2 separate regions of the Homo sapiens genome follow, and region 2 is linked to region 1. The links are contacts of gene promoters, found by promoter capture Hi-C in human tissues and cell types (Jung and others, 2019). All regions are on one chromosome and are shown on one strand. Each heading gives the region's core, a stretch centred on a gene start or on the middle of the fragment in contact. The rest is flanking DNA. Distances are from core to core; before and after follow the strand shown.

Evidence for each region. The method cuts DNA at HindIII sites, captures the fragments that hold promoters and counts their contacts. A contact is called where the count stands out against the background at its distance.
Region 2: a fragment that was not itself captured here is called in contact with the fragment with the promoter of ERGIC1 in region 1 in 1 of the 25 tissues and cell types used here (dorsolateral prefrontal cortex).

What each region holds. Positions count from the first base shown.
Region 1 is chr5:172,831,307-172,835,878 of GRCh38, forward strand. It overlaps ERGIC1 (endoplasmic reticulum-golgi intermediate compartment 1), which reads left to right and starts at 2,945. Exons shown (of 10, transcript NM_001031711.3): 1 at 2,945-3,127. The coding sequence starts at 3,108. RefSeq lists silencers at 2,798-3,197, 3,568-3,617, 3,628-3,707 and enhancers at 3,691-4,572, 4,178-4,387. The HindIII fragment of the contact is 25,389 bases long and covers 1-4,572 here.
Region 2 is chr5:172,287,080-172,291,599 of GRCh38, forward strand. All of the region lies in intron 1 of LOC100288254 (a long non-coding RNA gene), which reads left to right. Among named protein-coding and RNA genes, the nearest start is that of UBTD2, 5.6 kb to the left of the region's middle. The HindIII fragment of the contact is 5,319 bases long and covers 1-4,520 here.

The DNA of each region.
Region 1 (4,572 bases), core at 1,695-4,194:
AAGATTGATAATCCGAAAACTTAACTTGTATTGTTGTTCCCTGCTCAAAGAGACCCAGAGCCTTCCCACGTACTGCAGACACAATCTGATTTTCTTAGCTCCATCTCCCACTGGCTCTTGAGTGGATGGACCATCTGGGACTGACAGCCTGGTCTGCTCACAGACCTCACCAGTCCCACAGCGGAGGCCCATGTTGATACCTCCCCTCCCATCCGCTGTTCTGTTGGTAAGGCCTGCCTCCGTGGGAAGGCCTGCCTCCCTGGGAAGCCTCTATTCAAACTTCAACGCATAGTTAGTGCATCCCCAGCATGTGCAGGGTCTGGCTGGATGCTAGGATATGATGGTGATACCACCTTGTCTCAGGGAACTTTCCTTTTTTTTTTTAAATTATACTTTAGGTTCTGGGATACATGTGCAGAACGTGCAGTTTTGTCACACAGGCATACACGTGCCATTTGTGTATGGCATCATTGTTTGTGTACCCATCAACCCGTCATCTACATTAGGTATTTCTCCTAATGCTATCCCTCCCCTAGCCCCCTACCCCCCGACAGGCCCCTCTCAGGGAACTTTCACTCAGATGGGGTAGTAGTTACTAGCGAATTAATAATAACCTAATCACACGTCATGCCCAGTTCTCCCAAGGAAACCTACAAGGTACCATGCGATTATGTAATAGGGGACTGGCCTAGTCCATGAGCATTGGGGCAGTCAAGTAGCTAGCCAGGCTGCATAGGTGTATCAGCATTGGGTTTAGGTGTAAGTGTCTGAAAATACAGAATAACAATAGCTTAAATAAGATAGATGTTTGTTTCTCTTGGGCAGGTGTTTGAGGACAGGTATTTTGCCACTTAGAGACAGGAACTCAGGTTTTTTTTTTTTTTTTTTGAGACAGAGTCTCACTCTGTCGCACAGGCTGGAGGGCAGTGGTGTGATCTGGGCTCACTGCAACCTCTGCCTCCCAGGTTCAGGCGATTCTCCTGCCTCAGCCTCCTGAGTAGCTGGGATTACAGGCGTGTGGCACCACGCCCGGCTAATTTTTGTATTTTTAGTAGAGACAGGGTTTCACCACATGTTGGTCAGGCTGGTCTCGAACTCCTGACCTCAGGTGATCCGCCCACCTCGGCCTCCCAAAGTGCTGCAATTACAGGTGTGAGCCACTGTGCCCGGCAGGAACTTAGGCTCTTTTTGTCTTGTTGCTCTGCTCTGTGGTGGCCTCCACCTTATGGTCCAGGATGGTGACGCCTACATTCCTGGCAGCCAGATGGAGAAAGGGACACAGAGGGTAAAGCAGACATACCAACTATCCCAGATGCCCCACAAGACACTTCCCTTTACTTCTCAATGCCACATCTAGCTACAAAGGAAGCTGGGGAAATGCAACTTTCACTGTGAGCACCCACATGCCCAGCCAAAAGTTGGGAGCTCTATCCCCACTCGAAAAGAGCAATGATAGTCAACCCTGTCTTGCATTTACTCTGTGCCAGGCATTTGCTGACCTTGGATATCATCCCAAATGCACACTTGATTCAGTAGGTCTGGCCTGGGGACAAGAGTCTGTCCTGTGATGGCCATGTGGCTGGTCTGTGGACCACAGTTTGAGGAGGGAGGATTCGAGGTCAAAGATCCATCATTGCATGTTTCCTCCCACACAGGGCCAACGAATGGCTGTTTGGAAGCAGTGGCTGCTCAAGATCCCTTAACTCTCCCTGCTGTCCCTAGGTTTCCAGTTCAGGCTGAGATTTCCTTTTCTCCCCCAACAGTGTCAGACCACTGACACTGAATGAATGAATGAATGAATGAGTGAATGAATGAAAAGGGAACGCAGAGGTCAGGTCCCGGCATATGCTCTAGGGGAAGGCTTTGGTTCACCACGTCACCCTACCCCAGACCCCGTGCTAGTGTTGTCCCTTCTGAATCCTCCCGGAGGAACCAGCACTGCTGTTCCCCTCTATTTACACAGGGGGAAACTGTCCATTGACTCTGCTTTTGGAACCCGAGCCCTCACCATTCTCCCCTGGGTTTTTTGAAGCCCTGTCCCACCACAACCTTGGAGAAAGGGCCAGTGACAGAACCTCGGGGAAGTTCAGAGTGAGTTTCCCCTACTCAGGTCTTGTGTGACCTCAACTACCATCTCCTCTAATCCAGCAGTCACGGAGGCAGCTGCTCTGTATTCCTGAGGAGGAAACTGAGGCTCTAAGAAGGAGACAATCGGCACAGTCCACGTTGGCCAAGTCACAGTGCAGGTCCCATCTGCCTCTGCCACAACCCTGCATGTTCTCGATGGACCTGGTTCAGAGCAGATGCTCTGTGAATGCCCACTGGAGTGAACGACAGGGGCAGATGGAAGCAGGGACAGCCACTGCCAGCCTCAATAGTTTCAGGTGCCTGGCACTGTGCTAAGCCAGTCTCCTGTTTCTCAGCTGATCCCCAGGAAAACCCCCTCAAGTAGGTGTCATCGTCCTCTTTGTGCAGATATGCAAAAGGGGCGGGGCGGGGGGGGGGCGCTCTGAGAAGCCCAGTGGCTTTCCCAGAGAGACACGGCAGGGGCAGAGGTGAGTCCACCTTAACAGCCTAGGATGGCCGACCTCTTCCCTTCCCCCACAGTATTAGGCCCTCACTCAGAGCTAGACGCTGTGCACGGCCAAAGTCTGTATCACCCCGCCCCCCGCCCCCAACTCAATCACAGTTCAGTGAAACTGTTTACAAATGCAAAAAACTGGGCTCGGAGAAGCAGAGAATTTGTCCGAGGGCATCCAAAGAGATGGAGAAGGAAATCTAAGTGGGAGGCTTGAAGGAATGAGTACTGGAGTCTTTGGGGGACTCCCTTCCCTTCCGACAGCCTCGACTCTCCGCCCCTTCCCTGCCTGCCCGCGGGCCCCTTTAACCGGGTGGCGGAAGGGGCGGCCGGGCGGGCGGCGCCCAATGGGCTGCGCGGAGCGTCACTTCCCGGCAGCGGGAGGCGAGTGGCGAGTGGCGAGTGGCGAGTGTCAGGGGGGCGGCCGGCGGGGGCGGGGCGGCCGGAGGAGGCGTTGGCAGCGGGCTCGGACCCACGCGGCGCCGCGGCCCGCCTGGCCTGCAGCGCTCCCACCCCCGGCGGCGGCACGATGCCCTTTGACTTCAGGAGGTGAGTGTGGCGACCCCGGCCAGTCGGGAGTTCCCTCAGCGGGCAGAGGGAGCGCCCCGGCACGCCGCGGACCCCTCCCGCCCTGCATGCAAAAGCGGCTCCCCGCCCTGTGCATGCCTCCGCAGGCCCCTAGGGACCCCAGGCGAGCCCCCCCCCTGCCGCACACGAAGCCAGCCAGAGCCGCGGAGGCCCCCTCGTGCAGCGGGAGACAAATCCACCCACCTTCCCTCCGCCGAGCCCCCTCCCCAGCCTGCCCGGATACCTTGCATTCCCCTCCCCCACACTAGGAAACATTTCCTCCCTCCTCCCAGATGGGAACAGCCCATAACACCCCAGCATCCCTCTCCTCCCTCTACTGAGCCTCCTTGGTGGACCCCACCTCAGCTGACAGGTGGGGCAGGGCACCTGGAATGAGTCCGGAGGGGCCTGGGGCCCCATGCAGCCTGCCGGCAGCTGGAGGGTTTTAAGTTTCTATAGCCTGAGGCTCCCCCAGGCCGGGCAGATCGGGAGGCCTGCCCCCGCCCCTCCCTCCCTCAGCCCCAGCCCTGTCCGCTGGGTATGGGGGCACCATGGGAAGGGGAGGAGGCGCCTTGGGCAGGACTCTGCAGAAGGGCCACCGGGGTCTGGCCTTGGCTTTCTGCAGTCACCACAATGGGTCCTTTGTGGGGTCCAGCTGCCTCATGGTCTAGGTTGCATGGGGCATTCTGGAAGCCTGCGGGGGAAGAGATCTCCACCAGAGGTTCCCTTGAGGTGTGGAGCCCCAGGGGATGTCCTGGCCTGAGGCAGCCACACTTGGTGTCTGGCTGGGAAAAGAGCAGGGCTTTAATGCAGGGAGGAGCTGGATTAGAATCCTGGCTCTGCCCTTTCTACTGAACAGCTCGGTATATTCTAGAAGTTAGGGGCAAAGGCTCTGGGTTCAGAACTCCCTGTCGCCGCTCGGCTGGCTGACCTCAGCAAGTCTCCGAGCGCCCTCAGTTTCACCACCTGCAAATTGGGGCTAAAAATAAGGTCTCCGCTTGTGACGACTGAGTGCGTGAAACACCCTTAGCAGAGTCTGGCATGATTTAGAGCTCAGAAATAGGGCATTAGTGGATGGGGGGTGTTCTCCAGGAGGGGTTTTCCACATCCACAAAATAGTGATTCAGATGCCTGTGCCACAGGAGGTATTTCTTCCCCTCTTCTTGCATGTGAAGGCAGTGTAAAGTGACAGTCTACCCAGAGAGAAAGGCCCTTAGCCTGCCATGACCCCCATAGCATGGGATATATTGGGGTTTAGGCCCAAAGAGGACACTGGTCTTGGACCTCTTGATTGGTTGACATGGTTTTCCAGCCTGTCCGGGTCCCTGATACCAGCTAGCAAATGTTTGCCGGCTTCTTGCCCCTGCCGGGCAGCCCTGAGGCTAGCAGACCTAGGCAGTTTTGAACAAGGACAGCCCCTCTGGTGG
Region 2 (4,520 bases), core at 1,176-3,675, 540 kb before region 1:
GGGCAGACCGCCTGTGGTCAGGAGTTTGAGACCAGGTTGACCAACGTGGTGAAACCCCGTTTCTACTAAAAATTCAAAAATTAGCTGGGCATGGTGGCGTGTGCCTGTAATCCCAGCTACTCGGAAGGCTGAGGCAGGAGAATCACTTGAACCTGGGAGGCAGAGGTTGCAGTGAGCCGAGATAGCACCACTGCACTTTAGCCTGGGCCACAGAGCAAGACTGACTCCAAAAAAAAAAAACTGACTGCATAGCACTTTCTATCAAAACAATTCCTTCTTTGTGTGTGTGTGTGTGTGTGTGCACATGTGCTTTTCTACTGTTTTATAGTATCTTTATTAAGATATTCATATACCATGTATTTCACCAGTTTATTTTTAATTGACAAATAACTGTATTATGAGGTCACAGTGTGATGTTTAGATACATGTTTACAATGTGGAATGACTAGGCTAATTAACAAATCCATCACCTCACGTATTTGTCTTTTTTTTTTTTGAGACGTAGTCTTGTTGTTGCACAGGCTGGAGTGCAGTGGCACAATCTGAGCTCACTGCCACCTCTGCCTCCTGGGTTCAAGCGATTCTCCTGCCTCAGCCTCCCAAGTTACTGGGATTACAGGCGCCTGCCACCACGCCCAGCTAATTTTTGTAATTTTAGTAGAAATGGGGTTTCGCCATGTTGGCCAGGCTAGTCTCAAATTGCTGACCTCGTGATCTGCCCACCTTCGCCTCCCAAAGTGCTGGGATTACAGGCGTGAGCCACCGTGCCCCGAGCCACTGCGCCCCGTCCACGTGCTTCTCTTTTTTGTGGTGAAAACATTTAAGATCTACTCTGTTAACGATTCGGAAGTATACAGTGCATTATTATAGTCACCATTCTGTGCAGTAGGTCACTAATGCCTATTCCACCTAACTGAAACTTTCTACTCTGGAATCAATATCTCCCTTTTCCCCATCCACCCCCACCCCTTCACCAATTTACATTGTACAAGTCAATGGTTTTTAGTATATTTACTAAATATCAATAGTCAATGAATTTTAAAACATTTTTATCACCCTAAAAAGAAACCCTGTACCTATTAGCAGTCACTCCCCATTTCATTCTATCCCCTACCTCACCCCAGCCCTAGGCGACCACAAACCTTTCTCTTTTTTTTTTTTTTGAGACGGAGTCTCCCTCTGTCACCCAGGCTAGAGTGCACTGGCACAATCTCAGCTCTCTGCAACCTCGCAGTTGAAGTGATTCTCCCACCTCGGCCTCCCGAGCAGCTGGGACTACAGGTGTGCACCACCATGCCCAGCTAATTTTTTGTATTTTTAGTAGAGATGGGGTTTCACCATGTTACTCAACCTTCCAGGCTCAAGCAATCCTCCCACCTCCCCCCGCCTCCCCCCCGCCAACCCGCCACCCGCCGCCAACACACACAATACCCAGTAGCTGAGACTAACTTCATTCCTCTTTATGGACAATATTCCATTGTATGGATGTACCACATTTTGTTTATCCTTTCATCAGTTGGTGGTTATTTGGATTGTTTCCATTTTTTGGGTATTGGAATAAAGCTGCTATGAACATTCCTGTACAAGCTTTTGTGTAGCCATATGTTTTTAATTGTCTTGGATTTATACCTAGGAATGGAATTGCTTGGTCATATGGTAACCCTGTTTAACTTTCTGAAAAATTGGCAAATTGTTTCCAAAGTGGTTTTGACTTGATTTTCCTAATGGCTAATAATGTTGAGCATCTTTTTATGTACTTATAGGCCACTTGTATATCTATTTTGGAAAAATGTCTACTCAAGATACTTGCTCATTTTTTTTTTTTTTTGAGATGAAGTCTCGCTCTGTAGCCCAGGCTGGAGTGCAGTGGCATGATCTTGGCTCATTGAAACCTCTGCCTCCCAGGTTTAAGTGATCCTCCCGCCTCAGCCTCCTGAGTGGCTGGGATTACGGATGCCTACCACCATGACTGGCTAATTTTTGTATTTTTAGTAGACACGGAGTTTTGCCATGTTGGCCAGGCTGGTCTCGAACTCCTGACCTCAAGTGATCTGGCCGCCTTGGCCTCCCAAAGTGCTGGGATTACAGGTGTGAACCACTACACCCAGCCTATTGCAGGTTTTTTACTTTTGTGTGTGTGTGTGTGTGTGTGTGAGACGGAGTCTTGCTCTGTCACCTAGGGTGGAGTGCAGTGACGTGATTTTGGCTCACTGCAACCTCTGTCTCCTGAATTCAAGTGATTCTCCTACCTCAGCCTCCCAAGTAGCTGGGATACCAGGCACCTGCCACCACGCCTGGCTAATTTTTTCTCTTTTTTTTTTTTAGATGAAGTATCACTCTGTTGCCCAACCTAGAGTGCAGTGGTGCAATCATAGCTCACTGCAGCCTTGAACTCCTGGCTCAAGCAATCCTCCCACTTCAGTCTACCAAGTAGCTGGGTCTACAGGTGCACACCACCATGCCCAGCTAACTTAAAAAATTTCTTTTTGGGCTGGGCACGGTGGCTCACACCTGTAATCCCAGCAATTTGGGAGGCCGAGGTGGGTGGGATCACCTGAGGTCAGGAGTTCAAGACCAGCCTGGCCAACATGGTGAAACTCTGTCTCTACTAAAAATACAAAATTAGCTGGACGTGGTGGCACATGCCTGTAATCCCAGCTACTTGGGAGGCTGAGGCAGGAGAATCGCTTGAATCCGGAAGGCAGAGGTTGTGGTGAGCCAACATCTCGCCATTGTACTCCAGCCTGGGCAACAAGAGCGAAACTCCATCTCAAAAAAAAAAATTCTTTTTGTAGAGATAGGGTCTTGTTATGTTGCCTAGGCTGATCTCGAACGACTGAGATCAAGTGATCCTCCTGCCTCAGCCTCCCAAAGTGCCGGGGTTACAGGTGTGAGCCACCACACCTGGCTTAACTTTCTTTTCTTTTTTTTTGTTTTAATTTTGGAGACGGGATCTTGCTCTGTTGCCCAGGCTGGAGTGCAATGGCACAATCTTGGCTCACGGCAGCCTTAACCTTCCAGGCTCAAATGATCTTCTCACCTCAGCCTTTCTAGTAGCTGGGACTACAGCTGCATGCCACCATGCCTGGCTAATTTTCTTTATATTTTGTAGAGACAGGGTCTCACTATGCTGCCCAGGCTGGTCTTAAACTCTGGCCTCAAGTGATCCTCCCGCCTCAGCCTCCCAAAGTGTTGGAATTACAAGCGTGAACCAATGCTCCTTGCTTAACCCTCTTGATAGTGTCTTTTGAAGCACAAAAGGTAGTTTCCTTTTTTTGTTTGTTTTTTTTTTTTTTGGAGATGGGGGTCTCACTATGTTACCCAGGCTAGACTCTGACTCCTGGGCCCAATCCATACTTCCACCTCAGCCTCCTGAAGAATTGGGACCACAGTCATGGACCACTGCACCAGCTGATTTTAATGAAGTCCATTTAACCTATTTTTTTCTTTGATTGCTTGTGCTTTGGGGCTCATATCTAAGAAACCATTGTTGGCTGGGTGCAGTGGCCCGTGCCTATAACTCCAGCACTTTGGGAGGCAAAATGCCTTGAACCCCAGAGTTCAAGACCAGCCTGGACAACATAATGAGACCCTGTATCTACAAAAAAAATTTAAAGAATTAGCTAGGCATGGTGCTGTGTGCCTGTGGTCCCAGCTACTTGGGAGGCTGAGATGGGAGGATCACTTGAGAATGGAAGGTCGAAGCTTCAGTGAGCCATGATCATGCCATTGCACTCCAGCCTGGGTGACAAAGCAATATACCATGTCCGAAAAAGAAAAAGAAAGAAAAACAAAAAGAAACCATTGTCTAAGGCCATGGAGATTTACACTCTAAGAGTTTTATACTTTTAGCACTTACATTTAGGTCTTTGATCTGTTTTGAATTAATATTTTTATTGTGGTAAAATACATATAACATGAAATAACTTATTTTTATTTTTTATAAATGTATTTGAACTAAAGATGGGATTTTGCTATGTTGCTTAAGCTGGTCTTTAACTTCTGGCCTCAAGCAATCCTCCCACCTTGGCCTCCTACAGTTCTGGGATTAGAGGTGTGAGCTACTGCACCCAGCCTGACTTAATATTTATAAATGATGTAAAGTAGGGATCCAACTTCATTCTTTTGCATGTGGATTTCCAGTGTCCCAGCATCATTTGTTGAAAAGATTATTCTATCCACCCCCGCCCACCTTTTTTTTTTTTTTGAGATAGAGTTGTGCTCTTGTTGCCTGGGCTGGAGTGCAATGGCACGATCTCGGCTCACTGCAACTTTCGCCTCCCAGGTTTGAGTAATTCTCCTGCCACAGCCCCCCAAGTAGCTGGGATTACAGGAATGCACCACCATGCCCAGCTAATTTTGTATTTTTAGTAGAGACAGGGTTTCACTATGTTGGCCAGGCTGGTCTCGAACTCCTGACCTCGAGTGATCCACCCACTTTGGCCTCCCAAAGTGCTGGGATTACAGGCGTGAGCCACCACCTCCGGCCATTCTTTCCCCATTGAATTGTCTTGATGCCC